2 separate regions of the Homo sapiens genome follow, and region 1 is linked to region 2. The links are contacts of gene promoters, found by promoter capture Hi-C in human tissues and cell types (Jung and others, 2019). All regions are on one chromosome and are shown on one strand. Each heading gives the region's core, a stretch centred on a gene start or on the middle of the fragment in contact. The rest is flanking DNA. Distances are from core to core; before and after follow the strand shown.

What was found. Contacts are between HindIII fragments. The study calls those that stand out against the background at their distance.
Region 1: a fragment that was not itself captured here is called in contact with the fragment with the promoter of PABPN1L in region 2 in 1 of the 25 tissues and cell types used here (lymphoblastoid cells).

Annotation. Positions count from the first base shown.
Region 1 is chr16:89,237,956-89,240,948 of GRCh38, forward strand. No RefSeq gene overlaps it. Among named protein-coding and RNA genes, the nearest start is that of ZNF778, 22 kb to the left of the region's middle. The HindIII fragment of the contact is 4,092 bases long and covers 1-2,993 here.
Region 2 is chr16:88,865,410-88,868,259 of GRCh38, forward strand. PABPN1L (PABPN1 like, cytoplasmic) reads right to left here and starts at 1,251. Exons shown (of 7, transcript NM_001080487.4): 1 at 943-1,251; 2 at 397-532; 3 at 154-221. The coding sequence starts at 1,197. The HindIII fragment of the contact is 11,880 bases long and covers 1-2,850 here.

The DNA of each region.
Region 1 (2,993 bases), core at 402-2,901, 370 kb after region 2:
ATAGTACCATGTAAACATAATAAAGTGGAGAGGCTGTATTTAACATCAGAAAAAATGACTTCAGCACAAAGAAAATTACCACAGGGTGTTGAGTGCAGTGGCTGATGCCTGTAATCCCAACACTTTGGGAGGCTGAGGTGGCTGGCTCACTTAAGGCCAGCAGTTCAAGACCAGCCTGGGCAACATGGCGAAACCCTGTCTGTACTAAAAATACAAAATTAGCCGGGCATGGTGGCAGGCACCTGTGATCCCAGCTACTTGGGAGGCTGAGGCAGGAGAATCTCTTGAACCCGGGAGGTGGAGGTTGCAATGAGCCGAGATAGCGCCATTGCACTCCAGCCTGGGCAACAAGAGCAAAACTCCATCTCATAAATAAAAGTTAAAAGCAAAATGTGATAAAAGACCACAAAAATGAAAAATTACAGTGTTAATTATATTGATTCAAATTAGTTATGTTAAATATTAGCAAATAATACAAAACCACATTGAGAAAATAATAAACCATGACCAAGTGGAATTTAAGACTGCAACTGGTTCAATTAGAAAGCCTATTAAATACTACACCATATGAATCCATCTAAGAAGATAAGGCATGTGATTGTATCCATAGGTGTTGATGAAGCCTTTGGGAAAATGTGGTACCTACTATTGATAGACGCACTCAAAATAGGAATTGGTGAATACTTTCTTAGGACGCCTGTGTCTGTAGCTATATGTGTGTGTGTGTGTACTGGAAGTGTTACCTAATGCAATTGGGCAAAACAGATTTGCAAAAAAGTGAACTATCTCTTGTGTGCATTATATGATATACATGGAAAGCCCTGTAGAATCAGTAAAAACATTTAGTAAGTTAGAGGAGGTGAAGTTGCCGTCAAAACATAGATGGTCTTCATCTACACAACCAATAACCAGTGAGGTGATATGATAGTAGAGAAAACTTATTTATAATAGCAATAAAACAATGCTTAGAAATAAATTTATCAAGAAATGTATAAAACCTAAATGAGGAAACTTTTTGTTTGTTTGTTTGTTTGAGACAGAGTCTCGCTCTGTCATCCAGGCTGGAGTGCAGTGGCATGATCTCGGCTCACTGCAACCTCCACCTCCTGGGTTCAAGTGATTCTCCTGCCTCAGCCTCCCAAGTAGCTGGTATTACAGGTACCTGCCACCACGCCCGGCTAATTTTTGTATTTTTAGTAGAGACGGGATTTCACCATGTTGGCCTGGCTGGTCTCAAACTCCTGACCTCATGATCTGTCCGTCTCGGCCTCCCAAAATGCTGGGGTTACAGGCGTGAGCCACCGGGCCGTGCCCGGCCATGAGGAAACTTTAAAACACTTTTTTTTTTTAGATGGGGATTTGCTCTGTCCCACAGGCTGCAGTGCAGTGGTGTGATCACAGCTCACTGCAGCCTCGACCTCCAGGGCTCAAGCGATCCTTCCTCCTCATCCTCTCAAGTAGCTGAGACTACAGGTGCACACCACCACACCAGGCTAATTAAAAACTTCTAGGCCAGGCGCGATGGCTCACGCCTGCAATCCCAGCACTTTGGGAGGCTGAGGCGGGTGGATCACGAGGTCAGGAGATCGAGACCATCCTGGCTAACATGGTGAAACCCCATCTCTATGAAAAATACAAAAAGTTAGCCAGGTGTGGTGGCGGGCGCCTGTAGTCCCAGCTGCTTAGGAGGCTGAGACAGGAGAATGGTGTGAACTCAGGAGGTGGAGCTTGCAGTGAGCCAAGATCACACCACTGCACTCCAGCCTGGGTGGCAGAGCAAGACTGTCTCAAAAAAAAAAAAAAAAAAAAAAAAAAAAAAAAAAAACCACATAGACTTGAACAAACGGGCAAATTCCTTGTTCTTTGATGGGATGACAACATCATAAAAATCCCATTCTTAATTCAGAAATGAAACATAATCCCAGTTACAACAGCACCAAAAGCTTTTTGTGGAGTTAATGCAGATTGACGCTGAAGTTCATGTGGGGGCACAGACGTCTGATGGTGCCCAAGAAACCCAGGAGACAAAACTGATGCTTCCCTGTGGACACTGCAGCATCCTCTAAAGCCGCTGTAATTAAGGTATGTGACACATGACCAGGAAGCAGACAGATGGACAAAAATGGAATATCTGGAAATAGACCTAGCAACATGGAAATTTAGTTAATAAAGTGGGTATTTCAGATCAGTGGGGCAAAAATGCAGTTTGTAATGAAAGGTGCTAGGACAACTGGTGAGCTGTCTGAACAAGATGGTTTTACATGTATAAATTACACCGTTCAGGTCGAGTGTGGCGGCTCACGCCTGTAATCCTAGCACTTTGGGAGGCCAAGGGGGGGCAGATCAGTTGAGATCAGGAGTTCGAGACCAGCCTGGCCAACATGGTGAAACCCCATCTCGGGCAGGCGCAGTGGCTCGCGCCTGTGATCCCAGCACTTTGGGAGGCCGAGGCAGGCGGATCACGAGGTCAGGAGATCGAGACCATCCTTGTTAACACAGTGAAACCCCGTCTCTACTAAAAATACAAAAAAATTAGCCGGGCGTGGTGGCGGGCGCCTGTAGTCCCAGCTACTCGGGAGGCTGAGCCAGGAGAATGGCGTGAACCCGGGAGGCGGAGCTTGCAGCGAGCCGAGATCGCGCCACTGCACTCCAGCCTGGGCAGCAGTGAGACTCCATCTCAAAAGAAAAGAAAAGAAAAGAAAAACCCCATCTGTACTAAAAATACGAAAGTTAGCCAGGCATGGTGGTGCGGGCCTGTAATCCCAGCTACTCAGGGGGCTGAGGCAGGAGAATTGGTTGAGCCCGGGAGGTGGAGCTTGCAGTGAGCCGAGATGGCGCCACTGCACTCCAGCCTGGGTGACAGAGCGAGACCCCGCCTTCCCCCCGCCCCCCAAAAAATTACACCGTTCACAGGAATAAGCTGCAAATGGATCAGGGATCTAAATGTGGACAAAACGTGCACACGTGGGTGATGTGAATGGTTTCGGGGCGAT
Region 2 (2,850 bases), core at 1-2,500:
GCCCAGGCCAGTGTTTCCTCAAGGTGACGGGGCTGCCCCCAGGGTCAGACCCCCTTCCCAGCAAGGCTGCCTGGCCCATGGCCGGGCGCCAGACCCTCTGGTAGAGATGGGGCCCCATTCGCTGCCTGCCCCTTCACCCCGCCCACCACTCACGTTGCCCACGTAGACGGATCTGTGGTCAGCCTCCACCTTCTCCTCGGGGGTCCCAGAGAGGGGGCAGCCTGCGGAGAACACAGCTCAGGCCCGCAGGCCCTTGGTTCCTTCCTCACTCCTCTCACGGGGAAGGTCGCCCAGGCTTATAGGGGAGGTGACACCTTGGAGCCTGCCAGGCCCAACCTTAATGGAAACTGTGGGACCCTTGCTCAGTGGGGGGCGGCCTGTGCCCTTGGTTCCTACCCACGGTCTCAGGGCTCAGCAGCTGCCCGGCCGCGGTGCCCTCCTCTTCCTCGGCCTGTTGCTGCACTCCTGGAGGCCGTGGCGTCCCCTCGGCCTGCTCCATGGCACACACCTTCATCTTGATGGCCTCCAGCTCCTGCCGACACACGGCCCTGAGCCGGGCAGGCAGCCTGCAGGCTCTGCTCAAGGAAGGTGGGTGTGTGGCCTGCCAGCTCCAGCAGAGGGTCACAGCCCCAAGGGGCAGCCCTTCTCTGGACAGGGACACTCCTTCCTGGGGCAGCTGGCTGGGGATGAACTCGCCCCTGCAGAGAAGCCCCCGAAACCGCACCTCAAGGGCCCTTCCCCAGGCGAGAGAGGCCACCTTGACCCTGCAGTCTGTGTGGCTGGGGGCGGGGGGTCTCCTTGCCACCTTCGTCCAGGCAGGTGGGCAATGGCCCTCTCCCCTCCTAAGTCAGCTGCAGCCATCCGTCACCCAGACCCCGTGTCTCCACCAGCCCCTGTGCCCCAGGTCCCCTGAGATCCCCAGGGCCTCCACACAGCTGTTACCTGGTCAGGCAATGGGCACTCAGCCAGGTTCTCTTGCTCCAGCAGAGACAGCAGAAAGCCTGCATCCCCATCCTGGTCTTCCTCTGCATCCTCTTCCTCCTCTTTCTCCTCCTTCCCTTCCCCACCCTCTGGCCCCAGAATCTCCTTGGTCTCGTTCCAGGCCCCCCAGCCCTGGGCCTCAGGGTCTGAGGAGACCGTCTGGAGCCAGGCCTGAGTCGGGGGTGGGAAGAGAGAGCGGCTCGGGAAGGGCCACATGGTAGAGGGGCAGGAGGAAGGTGGGCCAGGCGAGGCCTCCCCTCCACTCCCCTCGCGTCCGCACCTGCCCAGGCTCTCCTGGAGTTTTAAGCCCTCCCCTGAGGCCAGCTGCTCCCACTAGAGCATTTGCAAAGGCTGAGTGGGGCTGAGCTTCCAGCCTTGGCTCCCGGCCCCGCCCCTTCCCTGTCACTCGGACAGGTACCTCCAGGACACTCTCCCTGGAGGAAGGAGAGGCTGAGTTGAGTGGGGGTCACCGGTCTCTTCTGCTTCCGCCTGGCCACGCTGTGGCTCACTGGAGCCTTGGTCTGTGACAGGGTTCACACCTCAGCAGCATCCACACGGCACGAACGCCACACTGCATGAACACTCGATCTAAGTGGGAACACGGGAGTGGTTTCTTCTAGTACCAGGGACCAAGCAGGCTGGAGAGGTGGCTTCCGACCAGGAGAGGCAGGGCCTGAGCAGAGACCGAGAGCAGGTGCATGGGATGAGAGGGCCGAGGCAGGTTGGGGCGGGGTCCTGGGCCCAGAGGAGGGGCAGCAACAGCTGTCTCTGCATCCTGACCCCCATGGAGTCCCCAGGGACCCTTGCCTCCCTAACCCTTATTCTGGGCCTTTTTTTTTTTTTTCTTTTTTTTTTAGGCAGGAGTCTTGCTTTGTTGCCAAGTCTGGAGTGCGGTGGCGCGATCTCGGCTCACGGCAACCTTTGCCTCCCAGGTTCGGGTGATTCTCCTGCCTCAGCCTCCTGAGTAGCTGGGATTACAGGCACCTGCCACCATGCCCAGCTAATTTTTTTTGTCTTTTTAGTAGAGACAGGGTTTCACCATGTTGCCCAGGCTGGTCTCGAACTCCTGACCTCAGGTGATCCGCCCGACTCGGCCTCCCGAAGTGCTGGGATTACAGGCGTGAGCACCGCACCTGGTCTGGGTCATCTTTTAGGTGGGAGCCACTTCCATGAGGCCAGAATTATTCTGCTGTGGGGCGGGGGCTCCGTGGGGAGTGACGGCGTGAGTTATTGTGGGGCGGGGTCTCCGTGGGGAGTGACGGCGTGAGTTACTGTGGCGGAATTCAGTGGGCATCCGGTGGTGTCTGCACCTGGCTTCACCCATGCAGGGTTGCAGCAGGAGGTGACCCGTGTCCGCCCTTGCGCCTCCCTCTGCACCTGCCACCGCGGCTGCTGGAGTCTGCTCTGGCCTTCATCTCCAGTGCTGCCGTCTCCCACCCACTCTGTGAAGGACTCGGGGCCAGGGGGTCATGCATGGCTCTTACCCCTGCCATTGGTGGTGGGAGACGGGGCCCCCTGCACAGCTCCTACCCCCAGGCCGAGGCCATCCTCTCTGTGACTGCACCCCGGTGTTTAGCCAGTGGGGCTGGGATTCCTGGGAATTTGGGACTGGGGGAGGAGAGAGAGACAGGGCGTGGCCTAGGCTGGAGCTGCACTGCTGCACCATGCACCACCCACGCAGGGCGGCCCTTCCTCCATCTTGGGCTGGGGGCTCGGGGAGCAGGTGGACATGGAGGCTGCCACAGCCTGGGAACCCAGGCTCCTGCACCCAGTCTGTTCTCACCTCTGTAAAAGCCAGAAGGTGTCTGAGATGGGTCTCAATCAATCAGTTTAGAGGTGTATCTTGCCAAGGTTAAGGGTGCACCCAGG